Regions from separate parts of the Homo sapiens genome. Here all the other regions are linked to region 3. The links are contacts of gene promoters, found by promoter capture Hi-C in blood cells and fetal thymus (Javierre and others, 2016). All regions are on one chromosome and are shown on one strand. Each heading gives the region's core, a stretch centred on a gene start or on the middle of the fragment in contact. The rest is flanking DNA. Distances are from core to core; before and after follow the strand shown.

Region 1 (2,700 bases), core at 25-2,524, 440 kb before region 3:
CTCACTAAAGAACTGTGCCCCTCTATCTCCCATCTTGTGTCTCTGCATGTGCGTGCCTAACCTCAGCTGAGCCATCCAAGACCCCTGATCACCAACCCTAGTCCCCCACGCGGCCCCTCATCCACTCCGACAAGATGAAAGAAACAATCATGGGCCAGGAAAACCCACCAAACTGCAGGAAAGGAACTGCTCACAGAAAGAAGGAGGTGGTTCATAAAACAGCCACAGCAGATGATTAAAAACTTCAGTTCTCCTTAAAGAAGTTAGAGGTAAACACTGTCTCTGGTATTGAAGAGGTGAATATGTTTACAAACCAAGGAACAGTGATCCACTTTAACAACCCTAAAGTTTAGGCATCTCTAGCAGTGAACACTTTCACCATTACAGGCCATGCTGTGACAAAGCAGCTGACAGAAATGCCATGCAGCATCTTAAACCAGCTTGGTGCAGTTTGGCTAGTTTAAGGAGACTGGCTGAAGCTCTGCCTAAACAATACGTGGATGGAAAGCACCACTTGCTACTGGAGAGGATGACGATGATGAAGTTCCAGATCTTGTAGAAAATTTTGATGAGGCTTCCAAGAATGAGGCAAACTGAATTGAGTCAACTTCTGAAGAAGATAAAACTTGAAGAAGTTACTGGGAGCTGCTATTTTATATTATGACTGCTTTTAAAAAATTTTTGTTTATGGATCTGATAAAATCTAGTTCTGTAATATTTTTAAGCCCAAGCCCCTTGGACACTGCAGCTGTTTTCAGTTTTTGCTTATAAACAATTCACCCTTTGCAGCTAATTAAGATGAAGAAGCCTGGGAATAAAGTTTGAGACAAAGGTTAATAAAGTTCTTTAGTTAAAAAAAGAAGAATTGTGCCGACCTCATAAGATTGTTGAGAAGATTGTATTAGATACACATGCAAAAACATTTAGAACAGTGCCTGGCACAAAATAAACGCTGGCTTGGGAAAGGTAAGCTATCTTTCTTAAGACATACTGTATTTATAACCTTATTCCTGGTACCCCTCACCTCTAGAATGAAGGAGGCTGGGCAGCGTTCACTCCTGGCAAGTGAGAAGAGTAATGACCAAATAACTACTATGGTGTTACACACCTGGTTTTCATTCTGGCTCTGTTTGGAGATAGTTGCATGGAGAAGATATTCCCCCTCTTCCAGCCTTAGTTTCCCCACCTTTAAAGTAGGGAGAGTGTTGTTGTGAGGATTACATGAATTCATGCATGTCAAGGCACTTTTTCTTTATTTCAGTAGCTTTTGGAGAACAAGTGGTTTTTGGTTACATGGATGAATTGTATAGTGGTGAAGTCAGATTTTAGTGCACCAGCCACCCAAGTATTGTACATTGTACCCAATATGTAGTTTTTTATTTTTTGTCCTCCAACCCTTCCCCTTCTGAGTCTCCAATATCAATTATACCACTTTGTATGCCTTTGTGTACCCATAGCTTGGTTCCCACTTATAAGTGAGAACATACAGTATTTGATTTTCCATTCCTGAGTTACTTCACTTGTAATAAGAGCCTCTAGCTCCATCCAAGTTACTTCAAAAAACATTACTTAGTCCCTTTTTATGGCTGAGTAGTATTCCACGGTGTTTATATACCATATTTTCTTCATCCACTCATCAATTGTTGGGCACATAGGTTAATTCCATATCTTTGCAATTGTGAATTGTGCTGTGATAAACATATGTGTGTGGGTGTCTTTTTGATATAATGACTTCTTTCCCTCTGGGCAGATACCCAGTAGTGAGATAGCTGGATCAAATGGAAGATCTACTTTTGGTTCTTTGAGAAATCTCTATACTGTTTTCCATAGAGGTTGTACTAATGTATACAATATTGTTTGACTCTGTGTCACCAGGCAAATTTTACCTTTAATTGTAATAATTCCCACATGTTAAGGGAGGGGACAGGTGGAGGTAATTAAATCATGGGGCAGTCTCCCCCATATGGTTCTTGTAATAGTGAGTGAGTTCTCATGACAGCTGATGGTTTTATAAACATTTGGCATTTCCCCTGCTGGTACATTTTTTCTTTGCCTGCCACCATCCACTTAAAATGTAACTTGCTCCTCCTTGCCTTCCACCATACTTGTAAGACCTCCCCAGCCATGTGAAACTGTAAGTCCAATTAAAACTCTTTCTTTTGTAAATTGCCCAGTTTCAGGTATGTATGTATCAGCAGTGTGAAAACAAACAAATACAGTAAATTGGTACCGGGAGTGGGGTGCTACTAAAAAAAAATCCCAAAAATGTGAAAGAAACTTTGGAACTGGGTAACAGGCAGAGGTTGAAACAGTTTGAAGGGCTCAGAAGAAGACAGGAAAATGTGGGAAAGTTAAAAACTTCCTAAAAACTTGTTACACGGCTTTGCCCAAAATGCTAATAGCAATATGAACAATAAAGTCCAGCTGTGGTGGTCTCAGATAAACATAAGGATCTTGTTGGTAACTGAAGCAAAGGTAACTCTTGTTATGTTTTAGCAAAGAAACTGGCGGCATTTTGCCCCTGCCCTAGAAATTTGTGAAACTAAACTTAAAAAAAAAAATTTAGGGTATCAGGTGAAAAAAAAATTCTAAGCAGCAAAGCATTCAAGATGTGACTTGGGTGCTACTAAAGACATTCAGTTTTATAATAAAAGCAAAGCATAAAAGTTTGAAAAATTTGCAGCCTAACAATGCAATGAA
Region 2 (2,700 bases), core at 131-2,630, 460 kb before region 3:
GTCAAAGCAATCCATCTTTTTCAGACCTATGAGACTGGTATTATATCTATGAGAGGCAATTCTCAATTATCCATGACATATCTCTTTAATAAACAGAATCCCAAACTGGCATACCCTAGCTACTCAATTCACTGTACCACTTCCTTCCCTGTTTGGCAGCCAATGCGTGTTCATACAGTCTCCTTTCCTGCTTGGCGGCCAGTGTGTGCTCAAAGAATACAACCTAAGTTCACTTGTTCTAAAAGAAACCTAAGCCAAGTATAATTAAGAAGGCAAAACTGCTATCCTTAAAACCACTCTGTGTATTCTAAACCTGCTAAAATGGATCTCTGGATTACCTGCTAGATTTAAATAATATCTGTACTCGTGTTGATCATTAATATTAATCACAAAATAAGCACATATTGTTGGAGCTAGAAGAAATCTTTGAAGTCATCAAATCCACCTATCCTTATTTTGCTGATGAAGAAAACCAAATTTCAGAGGAGAGAAGTAATTTGCCTGAGGTCACTAGCAAATGAGCAGAATCTTCCCCATCATTACAGCAAATGTGTAGGAACTGACTTTTTTTTTATTCCTGAAGTGTTCAAACCATCTCACAGCTGATTATTTTAAATACAATTAGGTCTCCAGACTACTCATTCCCTAGGGTTGATTCCTCCTTTTTAGAGTGAGCACAAGCCCCTGGGACTTATCGAGGCTCCCACAGTCCTAGAATAAAATTTCACCATCTGTGAAGCTTGCCTAGTCACATGTGTGATAAGTCAGACAGGCTGAGCTAACATTTCCTATGAAGCATTCCATAGCAGTCATTCTCACCCCTGGCTGAACATTCCCATCACCTCAGGGAACTCTTAGAAAAATATTGATGCCAGGAAACCACTATGATCAACTCAATCAGATCTCTCCCAAAGATTCTAGGAATTGTTGTTACTCTTAATATTCCAGGTGATTCCGATGTGCAGCCAGTGCTGAGAACCACTGGGTTAATGGAAACAATTAAGCAAAACAACAAGAGAAACATACACAAAGAATTTCCGGAACTCTTTGAGCACAAAATATATTCTGTTTTAAAGCTAAATCCATTATGTCCTGCTTTTTCAAAGAGGAGAAAGTAATACACAGAAACTACAGTTGTAGTACTGACCCTCAGCCAAGTTCTGAACCCAGTTTAGAAACATTTGCATTGTAGGCACAGAAAGAAAACAAGAAGCTCTGGAGCCTGCAACCAGATTTACCATGAGTAAGAGGCCAAGTAACTTATACTGCTTTTTCTGATGGGGCTATCAGTTTGGCAGATGCTTGCTATGAACCTAGCATATCTTGATGCCCACAAAGCATACAACAAATCTATCGTGCTATGTTATTCACATTAACACCCTGGTAGGATAAATGCTGGCACAACCAGGTGCAGTCTGCACTGGTTGACCAGATACATACAAAAATTAACAAGTCCCAACTCCAAGAGGGGCTCTGGTGAGGTGACAGAAGAGCTAGCATTAATCATATCATAGTAAACATTTCTTTGAATCAACGACTCGAATGCCATTTATTTGGTGTTCAAATAATGCAACACTAGAAGAGGCTGCTAACCTGTTGTGTGACATGAAGAAAAAAAATAAAAACCTCCCAAAGGCTAGAACAATAGTCCAACCAAACAAATAGAATTTAACTGATGCAGTGCTAGAAGGGACTGCTAATTTGTAGCACAGCATGAAGAAAAAATTTTAAAATCCACAGAAAGCTAGAATAATGGACCAACATGTCAAGATAAAATGTAGCAAGTTTGGTTCAAAAAACCCTGAAGTGGCCAACTTCACAAGAGAGTAGAGGACTGGACTAGACAGTAAATGGTTTGGACCTACATGCTCAAAAGGCTAACTCTTAACCCTGGCTGCACATTTGAATCACCTTAGGGAACTTTAAATTAAAAAAATAAATAAATAAAGCTCCCTGGGATCTAGCCCATGAAAATTAAATCAGAATCTTTCAGATAGGGGACCTGGCATGGGTATTTAAAAAAAAGCTTCCCAAGTGATCTGAATGTTCAGTGAGGGTTGAGAATCAGTAGAAGGCTGCATTATTAGACATTTCACAGACAAAACAAAGTTCTTTTGCACTTGATCTCAGTCAGGTGGCACCTAGAGTAGCATGAACAGTTCTAGGCAGCAGATTTTTAAAGAAATATAGAAAAATAAGTGTGCTTCAAAGAGAAGAACAATTGTATTAAAACTACAGTTCCTTGAAAACATTCTGTATTTTAGGCTTCAGCAATTCACACTGGCCTCTCACCTTGAAGATCCCAAATAGTGAGTTTTCATAAAACTAAACAGAACTCTTTGATGCATATTCAAGACAAAAAGGCATTTTATAGAATGAAAATTCTGAGCAAAAGTGCTATACAAATGAAAGTTATTAAAAATGTGAGTAGCTGAGGAAGCTAGTATGACTTCAGGGATGACTCCCAAATCTCCTTTCTTTCTTTTGTTTCCTTTTCTTTCTTTTTTTTTGGGACGGACTCTCGCTCTGTCACCCAGGCTGGAGTGCAGTGGCATGATCTCGGCTCACTGCATCCTCCGCCTCCTGGGTTCAAGTGACTCTCCTGCCTCAGCCTCCCAAGTAGCTGGACTACAGGCGTGTGCCACCACGCCCGGCTAATTTTTGTATTTTTAGTAGAGACAGGGTTTCACCATGTTGGCC
Region 3 (2,700 bases), core at 200-2,699:
ACGCCGCTGCAGCAGGCAGGCAGAGCCGCAGAGGAAGATGTTTGTGTGTGGAACAAGGCTCGCCTTGACCCCGCGGCCCTTGCCGAAAGCAGCCTGGCCAAACGGAGACCAGCTCTGCGGGGCCAGTCCAGCTGCCGCCTAGGCGCTTGGGCTGTGACGCATGTAGCGGGCACAGCCCCTCACCACCGGGGGAGCCAAGCAAAGTCCAGCGTTCGGGCGGTCACCAGTGTCAGAAGTGTCTCCAGCAGACAATGACAGGGGCCTGGCGGGCTGGGTATGTTAAGTAACTGCGAAGTTGGAGGGTTTGGCCACCTCGCTAGCTCTCCTGTACACAGAGATGGTATGATACGTTCCGTACTACAATGAGGGCTCCTTCGGCCTCTGGCAAGGAAATGCCCCCCAAACACCGTGCCTATTGCTATTTTTAAACGGGAGGCTGGAGAGGAAAACGCGGCCAGTATCCTCCAAGGGAAAAGGAGGTGAGGCGAGGCGAGGCGGGAGACAAAGCGGCCTTGCAGCTCTAACTCAAGGACTAGCTTGCGCCGCTGCTCTAACCCAAGGACCAGCAAGAGCCCGGCTGCCAGCCAGCCTGCCCGACCGCGGGGGCGGGCGCCAGATGCGCCCGGAGGCCCAGGAGGAGGGGCGCGGCTAGTTGGGGCCACAAGGCCAAGGTTCTGAAGGGAAGTGTGCGACTGAGCTCAGCCCACAGGCCCAACTGAGCTCCTCTGGGGAGGGGGCAGTCTGTGGATGTCCCAATCCACGCCAAAGCCGGTCTCCGTCGGGCCCAAGCCAGCACGCCAGCTTGAGTCCGCAGAAAGGAGGGAGAGGCTGGAGATGCACAGGGGAGGGGAGGGGCGGCAGCCAGGCAGCCGGAGAGAGGGGTGAGCGGTACCCGCGTTACACAGCTGTTCCAGCAAATGTGCTACAACAAAGCTGCAGAGCTCCTGGCCTACAAATGCATGGCTTGGGGTGCTGGCTGGCGGCGCCCTTCCCGGGACTGTGCGGCAGCACGTGCGGGCCCATCCCCGCCCCCCCGAAAGCCGGGAGGCTTGGCCCAGGCTAGCCTGCCTTCCTACCCGCCCTCCCCAACCCCCCTCCCCCCAGCCGTGGTCGCTTGTGCCCAGGGGACTCAAGGCCGCTCTGCCTCTCCACCCGACAGTCCGCAAAGCGGGTTCCAAAGGAGAGGGGCGAGCGACCGGGACTCCGACCCGCCTAGTCCTTAGTGCCCTCCTCCAGTCCGTAGGAGCAGAGCACGCGGGAATGCACCCGACCGCGGGCAGGCGGAGGCTCCTGGCTGTACGCAACGCTTACCCAGCCCGGTCAGGTTCCTAGCCCGGTTATTGTCCGCTGAGCCGCCCTGGGCCGGGCTGCAGCCTCGGCTGCCACGGCTGAGAGCGCCGCCACCGCAGCTGCTGCCGCCGTCGCCGCGGCTCCAGTCACCTCCAGCACTGACTCCCCTTCCCCAGGCTTTGGGTAGCTCCCCCATACCCCCTCCCCCAGTACTCCAAGGCCACCGGGTGGGGCATCTGCGTCCTGATTGGCAGGCATATGGCCCAATCGCTATGGTGGGAAGGCGTGCCCCGGCCCGCCCACTGTTTTCCTTGGTGCGTTTCTCTTTAAATGCAAATAAGTGCAGGCGTGGTGTTGGCAGGGGGCGGAGAGGGTGCGGAACCACTGGCTGGGGCTCCCCACTCCCGCCCCCACGCCGGGCTGGTAGTGGCGTGGCTACACCGTGGCCTCAAGGAGCCAGTCCTGCCCGGATGGGGCTCGCCGGATCGGTTTCGGTTTTCACGCACTCCCATTTCTGTGGCCGCTGTGCATTCGCGGTACTGTGCCCTGGCCGCCACCAGGACGTTTATTCCTGAGCTAGAGGCCGGCGGGGAGTAACGAGGCAGAGAGGTTGAGGAATCTGGGAAGACTGCAGAAACCTAAGGGCCGGCCTATCCTTAGTCGTAGAGACAAGGCCCTGCGGATCGCGCCGCCAGGCCACCCAGAGGAGGGACTCACCTGCCAGGAAAGCTAGCTGCAGCGCCTGCGCCCTAACTTCGTCCGCCTCTCTGGCACACCAGTGCCCTTAGAGACCATAGAGGCCAACTTCCACCCGTTACCGACGGGCCCTCTGCTGCCCAGAGTGGGGAAAGTCCCTCCCCACAGTTACCCAGCCTGCCGGCGACAAGGGCCAATTTGGAATCCAGAGCCCCGGGCTCCCTTTCCAGGATTGCTTTCACTTTTCTTCTCTGAGATGATACCTGTTTCCATAGTTTGACCCTCACCCAAATTTCGCACCTTCTATGGAATGTGGAGGGAATCCCCAAGGTCTCCAGAGTCCCCCTTCCCCCATCCTTTGTGAGCCTGGCTTTCGGCAGGCCTTTTTCCTTGAAAAGTCTAAATATTGAGAGGAAAATCTTGTCTGGGCCCAAACCGGAGGTCAGGCTGAGGACAAAGTGAGGAGGCCTGTACCAGCCTTGTCTGCTACTGTGTGTGGGATGTGGCAGGGAGCCCGGCGAACTTGGGTCTCTAGCCTAAGGACATTAAGTGGCATCAGTGGCTGCCAGGGCCAGGTGAGCTGAGGCAGCAAAGAATCTAGTTCCACCACTAGTTCAAGAATATCCAGAAGGCCCAGCCCTAAAACTCTGTGTGTGTCTAAAAAGGGAGGTGGGTGGATTAAAGCTGAGGATAGAGAGAAGGATTAGAGAACAA
Region 4 (2,700 bases), core at 120-2,619, 470 kb before region 3:
ATACCCTGGAGGCACTGGGAGTCTGAGATCTAAGGCTGGTCTCTGTGACCAAAAAAGGCATGTGTGTTTGCAGTGAGCTTGGGGTGGCCAGTGGACCCTTTCAGTGGGAACAGAAGAAGAAATGGGAAAGACAGAAGGAAAGTAAAAGAGTTATAAAGGGAAGGACGAAGCAAGAGAAGCTTATACTTGTAGAAAACATATGCTGCAAACTGGATAAAGGGCTTTCTTTTGTGATTTCAACCTCTATAATTCTCCAATGTAAGCATTAACATCTCCATTTTTACTGAAGATGACTTGTGAGATAAAACAAGTAACCCACAGTTACCCAGTTAGTAGGTGGTGGAGCAGATTTAAATCTCCAGTTGGCCTTACTCTACAGCTTTGCTATTTGCCAGTCCCCCATGGAACCAGTCAAATGGCAGGGAGGGGGACCAGCTCACCCTGTGAATGACCTACAGCAGTGATTCTCAGTTCCTCAGAGGTCTTGTTAAAACACAGGTTGCTGGGCCACATAGGCCTTGAGTATTGATTAGGTAGGTCTGAAGTGCAGCTTGAGAACCTGCATTTCAAATAGATCCCCAGGTGATACTGATGCTGCTGGTCTGGGAATCACATCTGGAGAACCACTGCCCTAATGGACTGTCCTAGTGTAGGCCCTACCCTTGCCTCTTCTGATGCCTCATTCTTCACAGATTTCCCCATGCCACACCATATGTTGTGCTCCCTGCCTCCAGCACTCCCTTCCTATCTACAAGGCCTTCCTCAGTTGTTGGTAAATGTCTGCAAAAGGGTATTTGGGGTCATGTAAGCAGCATGCCCAATGTCAGGCTGTGTTAACACAGGAAAAAACTTGGGATTATGGCTGTCACCCAGTCTTTTAGAGCCATGCCACTTATCTACAACTTCTTGTTCTTCCCCTCTAGTTCAACAGCACCACCCCCAAAATAGACATTTAATTAGCCTTGGTGGCTGTCAGAAATATTAGTGTTTTAATAAGAAGCAGCAGAAGGGAGAATGGGTTAAAAAATGTGAACCTCACATGTATGGAATAGCAAATATGCCAATTGCCATGAAGGTAGATGAGCTGGACCTGCCTTCCAAGAAGCTCCGTAGGAGGAAAAGGAGGGACATGACAGGGGTTTGCCTATGAGGTTTTCTCAGGTTGGTGTCTGCCCGTATCCTCTCAGAAGGCCCCCTTCTCCTGAACAGCTAAACTTGGGCAAGAGCAAATTATTTTCCCTTGCTCCCTTAAGCATATCTAAAACAAGCTGAGATTTTATGCTCTCTCCTGAAAAAGCTAGATTCCTTTTAATACAGCCTTGAAAACGCTCTGGCTATCTTGCCCAAAGTGTTGAAGGATAATCATCCTCCCTATTTTTGGGAAGGTGTGAACCAGGCTGCCCCAACAATAGCTATGAGGTACCATGGTGTACAGTAAAGACTCAGATTGGCTATTGGAAGAAAATCTGCCAGTAACTCACCAAATGATCTTGGACAGGTCCCTTTCCCTGTCTCAGTTTTTTTTTTTTTTTTTTTTTTTTTTAGATAGAGTCTTGCTCTGTTGCCCAGGCTGGAGCGCAGTGGTGCAATCTCGGTTCACTGCAACCTCCACCTCCCGGGTTCAAGTGATTCTCCTGCCTCAGCCTCTAAAGCAGCTGGGATTACAGGCATCTTCCACCACACCTGGCTAATTTTTTGTATTTTTCGTAGAGACAGGGTTTCACCATGTTGGCCAGGCTGGTCTTGAACTCCTGACCTCAGGTGATCCGCCTGCCTTGGCCTCCCAAAGTGCTGGGACTACAGGCGTGAGCCACCGCACCCAGCCCGTCTCAGTTTTTTTACATGTCAAGTGACAGACTGGAACCATACAGATGACCTCTCAAGTCCCTTCCAGCTCTGGTATTCTACTGAGGCTAACACTTACTCTGCAAAGGACGGGGATGTCATTATTGCAGCTTAATTCTCCTCACCCTTCTTTGTGCTTGATAGGATGCTTTTACTGCTTTCTGCTCAAAAAAATGAGAACTTTTTCCTGAAGATAACTCACTCAAGCATTGCTGGCAACACAGTCAGACTACCTGGGAAAATTGAGAAGTGGGCTTCCCACTTAAACCCTTGACTGCCGCATTCAAAAGTCAATAGGGACCTTTGCTTTTTGTTCTCTCCACTTAGTTCTTCAGATGAATCATCCTTCTCATGACATCAGTTCTCGCTCACCTCCAGTCCCATATTTCCTACTGCCTGCTCCACATTTCACTGGATGGCCTGCTACCACCTCCAATAAAATGCAAAATTCATCATATTCCCCCATTCTCCCTCCTTCTCAATTTTTCCCATTTAAGGAAAATCTTCTGGCCCTGCTATTTCTTTCTTCTTCATGTCTCTCCCTCTCAGATACAACGCATTCTCTTCATTCCCACTGTCTTATCCTGGTCCTCATCAGCTCAAACTGTCTCCCAACCGGCTTCCTTGGCCCTTACAGGTCTGTCCCTTCCTCAAGCTATGCCTTAATGATGCGAATCTTAAAGCATTTTTGCTAGTATCACTCCTCAAGCTCAAGAAGCTTCAGTAACTCCCCACTATCTCAAAGCTCTCCTTAATCTAGCCTCATCTCTGGATCCAACCTTTACCTCTAACAAGGCAGGGGCTTTCCACCACTCTTGTCAAAATGAGTCTCTTGCATCCTTCTCATGACATCAG

The links. The method cuts DNA at HindIII sites, captures the fragments that hold promoters and counts their contacts. A CHiCAGO score of 5 or more calls a contact.
Region 1: a contact is called between a fragment that was not itself captured here and the fragment with the promoter of AMER1 in region 3, in 2 of 17 cell types (M2 macrophages and monocytes). The highest score is 5.3, in M2 macrophages.
Region 2: a fragment that was not itself captured here is called in contact with the fragment with the promoter of AMER1 in region 3 in 2 of 17 cell types (non-activated CD4 T cells and fetal thymus); the score reaches 7.4 in non-activated CD4 T cells.
Region 4: a fragment that was not itself captured here is called in contact with the fragment with the promoter of AMER1 in region 3 in 1 of 17 cell types (monocytes); the score reaches 5.4 in monocytes.

What each region holds. Positions count from the first base shown.
Region 1 is chrX:63,766,741-63,769,440 of GRCh38, forward strand. The region is part of intron 1 of ARHGEF9 (Cdc42 guanine nucleotide exchange factor 9); the gene reads right to left. It also overlaps the pseudogene BTF3P8. Among named protein-coding and RNA genes, the nearest start is that of ARHGEF9, 17 kb to the right of the region's middle. The HindIII fragment of the contact is 4,403 bases long and covers 1-2,700 here.
Region 2 is chrX:63,746,740-63,749,439 of GRCh38, forward strand. The region is part of intron 1 of ARHGEF9 (Cdc42 guanine nucleotide exchange factor 9); the gene reads right to left. Among named protein-coding and RNA genes, the nearest start is that of ARHGEF9, 37 kb to the right of the region's middle. The HindIII fragment of the contact is 1,287 bases long and covers 738-2,024 here.
Region 3 is chrX:64,204,259-64,206,958 of GRCh38, forward strand. AMER1 (APC membrane recruitment protein 1) reads right to left here and starts at 1,450. Exons shown (of 2, transcript NM_152424.4): 1 at 1,312-1,450. LOC112268307 reads left to right here and starts at 1,688. Exons shown (of 4, transcript XM_047442706.1): 1 at 1,688-1,826. The coding sequence starts at 1,761. RefSeq lists silencers at 557-616, 1,597-1,696 and an enhancer at 1,827-1,986. The HindIII fragment of the contact is 4,951 bases long and covers 1-2,700 here.
Region 4 is chrX:63,730,036-63,732,735 of GRCh38, forward strand. All of the region lies in intron 1 of ARHGEF9 (Cdc42 guanine nucleotide exchange factor 9), which reads right to left. Among named protein-coding and RNA genes, the nearest start is that of ARHGEF9, 54 kb to the right of the region's middle. The HindIII fragment of the contact is 2,384 bases long and covers 178-2,561 here.